4 separate regions of the Homo sapiens genome follow, and all the other regions are linked to region 2. Evidence: promoter capture Hi-C in 16 types of primary human blood cells and fetal thymus (Javierre and others, 2016). All regions are on one chromosome and are shown on one strand. The core of a region is centred on a gene start or on the middle of the fragment in contact, and the rest is flanking DNA. Distances in the headings are between cores, read along the strand shown.

The links. The method cuts DNA at HindIII sites, captures the fragments that hold promoters and counts their contacts. A CHiCAGO score of 5 or more calls a contact.
Region 1: a fragment that was not itself captured here is called in contact with the fragment with the promoter of FPR1 in region 2 in 1 of 17 cell types (monocytes); the score reaches 5.4 in monocytes.
Region 3: a contact is called between the fragment with the promoter of IGLON5 here and the fragment with the promoter of FPR1 in region 2, in 5 of 17 cell types (naive B cells, total B cells, activated CD4 T cells and 2 more). The highest score is 7.3, in naive B cells.
Region 4: a contact is called between a fragment that was not itself captured here and the fragment with the promoter of FPR1 in region 2, in 1 of 17 cell types (neutrophils). The highest score is 5.2, in neutrophils.

Annotation. Positions count from the first base shown.
Region 1 is chr19:51,431,858-51,434,557 of GRCh38, reverse strand. No RefSeq gene overlaps it. Among named protein-coding and RNA genes, the nearest start is that of SIGLEC10, 16 kb to the right of the region's middle. The HindIII fragment of the contact is 7,506 bases long and covers 1-2,700 here.
Region 2 is chr19:51,750,482-51,753,181 of GRCh38, reverse strand. FPR1 (formyl peptide receptor 1) reads left to right here and starts at 1,304. Exons shown (of 2, transcript NM_002029.4): 1 at 1,304-1,368. The HindIII fragment of the contact is 1,877 bases long and covers 234-2,110 here.
Region 3 is chr19:51,310,210-51,312,909 of GRCh38, reverse strand. IGLON5 (IgLON family member 5) reads right to left here and starts at 1,266. Exons shown (of 8, transcript NM_001101372.3): 1 at 984-1,266. The coding sequence starts at 1,062. The HindIII fragment of the contact is 5,776 bases long and covers 1-2,700 here.
Region 4 is chr19:51,401,266-51,403,965 of GRCh38, reverse strand. It overlaps the pseudogene NIFKP6. Among named protein-coding and RNA genes, the nearest start is that of C19orf84, 12 kb to the right of the region's middle. The HindIII fragment of the contact is 6,389 bases long and covers 1-2,700 here.

The DNA.
Region 1 (2,700 bases), core at 197-2,696, 320 kb after region 2:
GCATCTGTGTTCACAGAAGCATATTCACAGTAGGTAAAAGGGAAAAGCAACCCTGCTATTCCTAAAAAGTGAATGAATAAACAAAGTGTATTGTATACATGCAATTGAATATTACTCAGCCTTAAAATAGAAGGAGAAGCTGGGCTGGGGCATGGTGGCTCACGCCTGTAATCCCAGCACTTTGGGAGGCCGAGGTGGGCATATCACTTGAAGTCAGGAGTTCTAGACCAGCCTGGCCCACATGATGAAACCCCATCTCTGCTAAAAATATAAAAATTAGCCAGGCATGATGACATGTGCCTGTAATCCCAGGTACTCGGGAGACTGAGGCAGCAGAATCGCTTGAACCTGGGAGGCAGAGGTTTCAGTGAGCCCAATCATGCCACTGCACTGCAGCCTGGGCAACAGAGCAAGACCCTATCTCAAAAAAAAAGAAAAAGAAAAAGAAAACAAAAAACAAAACAAACAAAAAAACCAAGGAGACAGGCATGGTGGCTCACACCTGTAATCCCAGCACTTTGGGAGGCCGAGGCAGGTGGATCACCTGAGGTCAGGAGTTCGAGACCAGCCTGGCCAATATGGTGAAACCCCATCTCTACTAAAAAAAAAAAAAAAAAGAAAAGAAAATACAGGCCGGGCACGGTGGCTCACGCCTGTAATCCCAGCACTTTGGGAGGCCGAGGCGGGTGGATCACCTGAGGTCAGGCATTTGAGAGCAGCCTGACCAACATGGTGAAACCCTATCTCTACTAAAAATACAAAATTAGCCAGGTGTGGTGGCACGTACCTGTGATCCCAGCTACTCGGGAGGCTGAAGCAGGAGAATTGCTTGAACCTGGGAGGTGGAGGTTGCAGTGAGCCAAGATGACGCCACTGGACTCCAGCCTGGGCAACAAGAGCGAAACTCTGTCTCAAAAAAAAAAAAAAAAAAAAATTAGCCGGGCCTGGTGGCAGGTGCCTGTAATCCCAGCTACTCAGGAGGCTGAGGCAGGAGAATTGTTTGAACCTGGGAGGTGGAGGTTGCAGTGAGCTGAGATCACGCCATCACACTCCAGCCTGGGCGACAAGAGTGAAACTCCGTCTCAAACAACAACAAAAAAAAAAAAAAAAAAAAAAAAGAAGGAGAAGCTAGCACATGATGCAGCGTGGATGAACCTTAAATATATTCTAAGTCAGTCACAGCAGGACAAACACTGTATGATTCCACTTATATGAGGTGTGTAGAGGAGGCAAATTCACAGACACGGAAAGTAGAGCCATGCTTGCCAGGGGCTGTGATCAGAAAGAAATAGGGGGTTTTCACCTCTTTGATGCAGTTTCAGTTTGGGAAGGTGAAGAAACTTCTGGAGATAAATCATAGTGATTCATAACAACGTGAGTGTACTTGGTGCAACTTCTCTAAACACTGAAAAATAGTTAAAACGGTAATTTTTTTCTTCTGTATATTTTACCACAATTAAGAAAAAAGCTACTGAAGATTTCATAGCCACCTCACCAAAAAAGAAAAGCAGATGGCGAACAAGGCCGTGAAAATAGCCTCAATATAATTTGTCATTAGGTAATTGTAGAATAGAAGAAGAATGAGGTAGAATTACATACCTAAGAAAAATGACTGAAAAGTACAACAAAGGTAACAAGAAATTTTAAAATATGTGGATGATATCACATGCTAGCAAGGATGTGAAGTGATCAGAGCTCATGTCTACTGCTGGTAGGAATACAAAATGGTATATACACTTTGGAGAATAGTTTGTCAATTTTGTATAAATTTAAACTTACACTTGACCAAGTGTACGTCTGACCAAGCACTCGACTCCTAGGTTTTTACTCAAGGGAATTAAAAACTTATGTTCACACGCAGAAAGTTGAATGGAATGTTTATAGCAACATTATTTTAGAGTCACCAGAACCTGAAAACAGTTGCAATGCTCCGCAAATGGCAAATACATGCAAAATGAGAGACCATGAAAACAATGGAGCACCAGTCAACAATTAAACTAAAATGACAGATTTATACCCAGCCCCATAGATGAGCCTCAAAAGCATTATGCCAAGTAAATGAAGCCAGATTTTAGAGGATACATTTTGTATGATTCCATTTATATGACATTCTATAAAAAGGCAAAATGGCAGGGATGGAGAATAGATCCGTGTTTTCTCAGGGACTAAGTGTAGAGGGAGGATTGACTACCTAGAGTCAGCAGAGGGAGGAAATGTTCAGGTAATGACACTTTTCATTGTCTTCACAGCGGTTGTGTATATAACTATATGCATCGGTCAACCCACATAAAATTACATATGATAAAGAATGAATTCAACCATATCTAACTTTAAGTAAATTTTTAAAAATTAAACATAAGATGCCACTGCACTGTCACTAGAACTCTTAAAATATAAAGCATAAGCTGGGCACAGTGGCTCACGCCTATAATCCTAACACTTTGGGAGGCCAAAGAGGAAGAATTGCTTGAGGTCAGGAGTTCAAGACCAGCCTGGGCAACATGGTGAGACCTCATCTCTACAAAAAATACAAAAATTAGCCGGGCGTGGCAGTGAGCACCTGTGGTCCCAACTACTCGGGAGGCTGAGGTGGGAGGATTGCTTGAGCCAAGGAGGTGGAGGTTGCAGTGAGCCGAGATGGTGCCACTGCACTCCAGCCTGGCGAGAGATTGAGACTCCGTCTCAAAAGAAAAAAAAATA
Region 2 (2,700 bases), core at 55-2,554:
AGGTTGGGGACCCCTGCTGTAATGTGAAGTCAGGAGCTGTGGTAGCTTTCTTGGAGCCATGAAGTGGCAATCCCCAGGAAAAAAAGTCACCATATTAGGGATAAAAAAGAGAAAAGATTAAAATGAATGTAGTTCTTGATGATATTTTCCAGATATAACCTAACCTAGTATTACCCTCTTGCAAAATTCTTGTAAAGTAAACCATAAATTTCGTCTTGGTTCTAAGCTAAGCTTGTCCAGCCCATGGCCTAAGATGGCTTTGAATGCAGCCCAACACAAATTCATAAACTTTCTTAAAACATTATCAGATTTTTGGGGGATTTTTTTTTTTTTTTTTTTTTTTAGCTCATCAGGTATCGTTAGTGTTAGTGTATTTTATGTGTGGCCCAAGACAATTCTTCTTCTTCCAGTGTGGCCCAGGGAAGGCAAAAGATTGGACACCCCTTGTTGAAGCCATTGTTAGGTGTAATTGTAAATTATAAATTACTTAGAATTAAAAACAGCCCGGCTCATGCCTGTAATCCCAGCATTTGGGGAGGCTGAGGCAGGAGGATCACTAAACCCAGGGGTCTGAGACATGCCTGGGCAACGTAGCAGGATACTGTCTCTAAAAGAAAAGAAAAAACAGTCTTAATGCAACAATGCCTTGGTAATAATGCTTTTAGAATCAGTGTCGTTATCTCTGATTCTGTAACTGTCTTACCATATTTCTCCATATCACTCTGATACCCTTGGAAGGATGCTTAACATTTCAGAAAAACGGTTATTTCTTTGGGCTAGAAGACTACAAATGAGCTTCCACAAGATCAGAGGATTATGGGGTTAATCTTGGTGGTGTGCATGGGTGTGGACGCGCTGTCCTGCCAACTGTCTCAACTTCCCCCACTCCCTTACCTCTCTCTGTGTTTCTGGTCTCCATCCCTCATGACTTCTTCTCTTCCTTTCATTGCCTCCCTCTGATTCTTCTCACCACAGTGCTTGCTGCTTTCTTTACCTTGACCCTTGGAGGGAGCAGGGGCCCGGACACTTGGATTTCTTGGCCCTTGTTGTTGAGAGCACTGAACCTCTGCATCCCACAGAGACTGAGGCTGAGAAATACAGTCAGGTACATGAGTTTCTAAACAGGCCCAGCCCACTGTCCTAATGCCATTAAAGCAGACAGTATATTGGTGTATTCTTGGGGCCATCAAAAATCAGAAGAAGCTCAGACTTCCTATTTCCTGCTACCCAGCTGGTTTTAGTTCCTTTACCCCTCCTCCTGTTCCTTGGTGTATGTTTTGCTGCAATCATTAGAGCCTGAGTCACTCTCCCCAGGAGACCCAGACCTAGAACTACCCAGAGCAAGACCACAGCTGGTGAACAGTCCAGGTAAGAAACATATTCTGGGGGACTGGGTAGCTTGACATAGACACACTTAATACACTGGTGAACACAATAGACTCTTTGTTTGAAGAAGGATGTGGAGTTGAAGAATAATTTTTTTAAAGAGGTTCTAAACAGGCCGGGCACGGTGACTCATGCTTGTAATCCCAGCACTTTGGGAGGCCAAGGCAGGTGGATAACTTGAGGTCAGGAGTTCGAGACCAGCCTGGCCAACATGTTGAAACCTCACTTCTATTAAAAATACAAAAATTAGCCAGGCGTGGTGGTGGGCGTCTGTAATTCAAGCTACTTGGGAGGCTGAGGCAGGAGAATTGCTTGAATCTGGGAGGTGGAGGTTGCAGTGAGCTCAGATTGCACCACTGTACTCCAGCCTAGGTGACAGAGTGAGACTCCATCTCAAATAAATAAGTAAATAAATAAATAAACAAATAGGCTCTAGACTTTATTGGGGTCCTGATGGGAATGATGGAATATAGAGACACTATGAGGCTGCAGGAGAGAGAAGGGATAAGTGAAGGAGGGAAGTTCTTGAGTAAATGGGGGAATGAGTTTTATGGGACCAGTAGAGGGTAATTCTTGGATGGAAACACTTGTTTTCTGGTTACAGAGATGAGGGCAGAGAACAGTGATGCAGGAGCCAGCAGGAGGAGAATCTGGTGGAGCAAGAGGCAAGGGCATCAGCTTGAGGGCTTGAGTCGGGATGGGAAAGGATGTTTGGTTTGAAGCTTTCAGGAGAAAGCAAAAGAGCCCTAACGACTTTATGATGGGTCATGGGGAAATGAGTGTAATACAGAAGCAGTCACCTTTCGGATCAGTGATGAGTCTCCACGTGAAGACACTGGTTCTGCATGGTGCATAGGACCCAGTAGCGGAATACAGCCCTGCCCTCTCATGAATCTGCAGACATTGGCTGTCATTTCTCATCAAGCTCCTAGTTTCCTCTTCCGTCACACAGGGATGATGATGTATAATCAATGCTGAGTTTGTTGAGATCAGAGGCAAGAAAGTTGAGGATGTGGTACAATGATTATCAAGCATAAAGTCCTTCATCGATGGCAGCCACCAAGGCCTGTGTTCATTGCAAATCACAGGATTTTTCCCTTGAACCATAATTGGACAAAATTGCACAGGTTTTCCTCTCTGGTATGTTCCAGCTCATTATTGCAGAATCCTCATCATTCATTGCAACAATCTTCTGAACTGGTTGCCTTAGAGATTCTTGAGGACAAAGAGTCCTCAGGGTATTTTGGTGGTTGGATGGGTGGTAGGGGAGGGAGACATCTCTGAGTTGTTTCTGAGATTGTAGAGTATCAAAGT
Region 3 (2,700 bases), core at 17-2,516, 440 kb after region 2:
TTGCACTCTCCTCCCTTTTCTTAGGGGGAAATCTAGGAATCTCCTTGACCACCCCCTGCCTGCCAGGCCCTACTGGGGAGACTCAAGGTCCAGCTATCTAACCTCAGTGCAGAAACCTGCCCCTGGCCCTCTCCCCAACTGGGAGGGCCGGGCCGGGCCGGGGTTAACCCTTCAACCTGCTTTAACCCTTCCCTTCCGTCTTTCCTTCATCCTCCCATGCCCATCGCTCTTCCACTGTCCAGCCCCACGAACCTAGACATTCAATCAGAGCTTGGGAATCCAAGACCCCAGCCCAGCACCCCAACTTCCTGTATCTCCAGCTCCCTTCTCCCCCACATAACTGCAACCTCCCCAAGTACCAACACTTTCTCTCAACCTAGATGACCCTGCTGGGGGATTTCAGACCCTTCCCCTCTTTTCCTGACCCTGGGACTAGGTCTGTGGACACCCTTGTCCCCTCCTCTTACTGACCCTGGGAAGGCATCCATCCCCTGACCTCTGTCCCGAGATGACTACCCCAGCCCCCGGCAAGGACCTCTTCAGGGACCCTCTCCACGTACAGATGAAGACCCCTAACAGGGCATTATCCCCTGCCCCCCACCCCAACTCAGTTCGGAGATCCGACCCGGGGACCCCGAGTCCAGTGTCTGCCCCCTCCTCAACAGGAGCCGCAGACTCCTGCCCCCAGGCAGGGCTAGGTGTCTGCGACCCTCTTGCCTGCTCGGGGAAGCAGACCTCCGCCCCTAGACCCGGCTCCGGCCCGAGGACGCCGACCCCTGCCCCGGGGCGCGGACCCCCACGTCCGAGGTCCCCCTGCCCAGCCAGGGAATGCAGACCCCACCCCCGGGCCCAGACCCCGGCGTCCCGGGGCCTCCCCGCGCCGGCCCAGGGATGCAGCCCTCGACCCCCACCCCTGATCCCCCGATTACCCACCCAAGACCCTGGCGTCCCGGCCGAGCCCCCCGCCCCCGGCGCTGCGGTACCTCGGCTGATGACGGCCAAGCCGGCCAGGGCGGCGGCGGCGAGAAGCCGGAGCCGGGCCCCGGGCGCAGGGGGGGGCATCGCGGCAGAGGCGGCGCGGAGGGGGAGGGGAAAGGGGGGGCCGGTCCGGGGCGCGCGAGGCCTGGGGGGAGAGGGGGGAGGGGGAGGGGGACCCCGCCTGCGCTGCACCGGCCCGGGGGGCGGCGGGGGCGGGGGGAGGGGGCTGGGGGGGCGCGACGAGGCGGCTGGAGCTGCTGCAGACCCGGGGAGGGGGGCGGCGCTGACGGGCAGGGAGACCGGCCAATCAGGAGAGGTGGGGGGCCGGGGAGGCGGGGTCAAGGGGGGGTTGCTTGTTGGAGGGAGAGGCCTTTGTTACTGCGGCCCGGCCCCTACCCCTCCCGCCCCAGGCGTCCCCACGTCTTTCCACCACATCCGCAGAACACGGAGTCTGGGATACTTCCTAAAACCCAGCTCCCTCCTCCTTCAAGTCCCAATCTCATCCTCCCATGGACCTAGGAGACTAGCCCCAGTCCCTCCTCTCTCAGACCCAGGAGCCCAGGTCCCCAGCCCCTCCTCCCTCAGACCCTGGAGTCCAGGCCCCCAGCCCCTCCTCCCTCAGACCCAGGAGTCCAGGCCCCCAGCCCCTCCTCCCTCAGACCCAGGAGTCCAGGCCCCCAGCCCCTCCTCCCTCAGCCCAGGAGTCCAGGCCCCCAGCCCCTCCTCCCTCAGACCCAGGAGTCCAGGCCCAGCCCCTCCTCTCTCAGACCCTGGAGCCCAGGCCCCCAGCCCCTCCTCCCTCAGACCCAGGAGTCCAGGCCCCCAGCCCCTCCTCCCTCAGACCCTGGAGCCCAGGCCCCCAGCCCCTCCTCCCTCAGACCCAGGAGTCCAGGCCCCCAGCCCCTCCTCCCTCAGACCCAGGAGTCCAGGCCCCCAGCCCCTCCTCCCTCAGACCCTGGAGCCCAGGCCCCCAGCCCCTCCTCCCTCAGACCCAGGAGTCCAGGCCCCCAGCCCCTCCTCCCTCAGACCCAGGAGTCCAGGCCCCCAGCCCCTCCTCCCTCAGACCCTGGAGCCCAGGCCCCCAGCCCCTCGTCCCTCAGACCCAGGAGTCCAGGCCCCCAGCCCCTCCTCCCTCAGACCCAGGAGTCCAGGCCCCCAGCTCCTCCTCCCTCAGACCCTGGAGTCCAGGCCCCCAGCCCCTCCTCCCTCAGAGCCAGGAGTCCAGGTCCCCAGCCCCTCCTCCCTCAGGCCCAGGAGTCCAGGTCCCCAGTTCCTCCTCCCTCAGACCTAGGAGTCCAGGCCCCCAGCCCCTCCTCCCTCAGACCCAGGAGTCCAGGTCCCCAGTCCCTCCTCCCTCAGACCCTGGAGTCCAGGCCCCCAGCCCCTCCTCCCTCAGACCCTGGAGTCCAGGCCCCCAGCCCCTCCTCCCTCAGACCCAGGAGTCCAGGCCCCCAGCCCCTCCTCCCTCAGACCCAGGAGTCCAGGCCCCCAGCCCCCTCCTCCCTCAGACCCAGGAGGCCAGGCCCCCAGGCCCCTCTTCCTGTGGGCCACAGTTCAGCTTTTCCATCTATTTTCATGGATAACGAAAACACTGACTTTTGGAGTGAAATTTGCTTTTTTCCTCCACCCCAACCCTCATCCCCAGTATAATAAGGCAATGGGAAGGGATTGGGGGACTTATCTTGGGGGAGCAGGTGGGGAGGAAACCATAATCCAGGGTTT
Region 4 (2,700 bases), core at 136-2,635, 350 kb after region 2:
GCGTGAGCCACCACACCCAGCCTGCATCTATTGTTTCCCAGACATCTGTATGTGGACACCCTGCAAGTACCTCATGTCCAAAACACATGCATTATCCTCTCATGCTCTCCTAAATGCTCCCAGCCTGAAAGCCCTTCTTCCCTTCATATCCTTGATCTTAGCTTACCATGCCACCATTGCCCAAACTCAAAATCTTAGGAACAACTCTGACTTATCCCTCACTCCACGTATCGGCAACTCCCGGTCATTCTCCCTCCTAAATATCAGGTGGTGCTGCCTCCCCCACCCTCCCAGCTGCCACTGATCCTGATGTTCCATCACTTGGACTGTGTATACATACGTATGTTAAAAGAATAGATGCCCGTTTTCTGCCTCATGGGAGCTGGGAGCCCGACGTTTCCAGGAGCACCGCGTGGAGTTAGTGTCGGCCGCTTTTGGCATGGCAGCTTTTTCTGGCCTGGCTGAGATCTCACTGCTTAACCCGCAGGAAGATGTCCAGTTTCAAAAGGAGGTGGCGCAGGTTTGCAAGCACATAACCCAGCAAAAAAAACAAGAACAACCCTACTTAACGAAACCCAGATCTTTTCATATTTCTCCCAGTTTGGCACTGTGACACAGTTCAGACTGTCCAGAAGTAAAATGACTGGAAATGGCAAAGGCTATGCATTTGTGGAGTTTGAGTCTGAGGATGTTGCCAAGATAGTTGCTGAAACAATGAACAACTACCTGTTTGGTGAAAGACTCTTGGAGTGTCATTTTATGCCACCTGGAAAAGTACATAAAGAACTCTTTAAACACTGGAATATTCCATTTAAGCAGCCATCAAATCCATCAGCGAAATGGTATAATCAGAATCGGACACTAACACAAAAGCTACAGATGAGGAGTGATTTAAAAAGAAATAAAGATTACTCAGGAAGAAATTAGCTGGCTGGGCACGGTGGCTCACGCCCGTAATCCCAGCACTTTGGGAGGCCAAGGTGGGTGGATCACCTGAGGTCAGGTATTGGGGAAAAGCTGAGTGTTGGGAAAAAAGCTGAGGCAGGGCTTGCATGTCTGACATAATGTAAAAGAGTCTTGGAACATGTCTGGGGTCCAGGGTCTAAAACCTCTCATGGCCTTTGGAACACCAAGCTCTGTGCTAAAGGGTGGAAGGCTGCCCTGTGGCACCATAATCTAAGCCCAGGGCATAAAACCCCTCGTGGCTTGGATGGAATCCAGGGCTCAGAGCATGGAACCCCTCATGGCCTCTGGAATGTGTCTAGACTTGCCGGCTCCTTGTTTCTAGCATTCCCAGGCTCATAGATCAATTGTATCTTAAACTAGAAGAACATGTTTCCCATTATCTCAAGTAGCAGAAAATGTTCCATATGCTTCAAAGAAAATGCTAAACTGTCACAGCTGTAAATCATGCACTTGATGCAGTGCTTTCTTTCAACCCCCACATCCTCACCACCTGCCTCTTTGTTTGATCACCAATAAACAGTACGGGCTTCCAGAGCTCGGGGCCTTCGCAGCCTCCATACTAGTGTTGGACCCCTGGACCCACCTTATGCACTTTTAACTTGTCTTTTCTCATTCCTTTGACTCTGCCAGACTTTGTAGCCCCCATGGCCTGGTGCTGGGTCTGATCACCCCAGCATTCCTGGCGCCCAACATGGGACAATGAAGATCCCGGTGAAGGAACGCTAGAGGACATGAAAGTGGAGGAAGTATCATCAGAGGACACCCGAGGATGACTGAAAGAAGCTCGGTGGGAAAGCTGAGTGCTCAGAAGAACCAGGGTAACAATCAGACAAAGTGAAAGCGAACATTCTGCTTATCTGAATTTCTTAAGGCATTTATTACAAAAAGGGGCAGTGAAAGTTAGTACTCAAAATTTGTTATCACTCTTTAGTACAGTAAAGCAGTTTTGCCCATGGTTTCCAGAACAAGGGACTATGGAGTTGGATGAATGGGAGAGAACTGGCAGAGATTTTAAAAAGGCGTATAAAGAGGGAGCAAAAATTCCAGTTTCCGTTTGGTCAATGTGGGCACTAATAAAGGCAGCCCTTGAGCCCTTTCAAACAGATGATGAGGGAGATTCAGATGAGGAAGAGGAGGACGAGTGTAAAAAACTAACTTCAGATTCTGAATGCAAGGAGCAAAAAAGAGAAGAGGTTAAAAAAGGGGAAACCGAAAAAAGTATATTTTACTAGCCCATCGGCTCTACCTGCTGAATTAAGTGAATGGCCACCTCCTCCCTTTCCCCTTAATGGGCGAGAAAGTGAATTAGCTATAAAATTTTCTGCTCCTGTAGTTGCAACATTAAAACCTGGAGCAATTGGTGGTGCTATGCAAAATTCTATTCAAAAAGCTAGAGCAAGCCGGGCGCAGTGGCTCACGCCTGTAATCCCAGCACTTTGGGAGGCCGAGGTGGGCGGATCACGAGGTCAGGAGATCAAGACCATCCTGGCTAACACGGTGAAACCCCATCTCTACTAAAGACACACAAAAATTAGCCGGGCGTGGTGGTGTGCGCCTGTAGTCCCAGCTATTCGGGAGGCTGAGGCAGGAGAATCGCTTGAACCCGGGAGGCAGAGGTTGCAATGAGCCGAGATCGCACCACTGGACTGTAGCCTGAGCAACAGAGCGAGACTCTGTTAAAAAAAAAAAAAAAAAAAGCTAGAACTGAGGAAGACCTTGAAGCATGGCAATTTC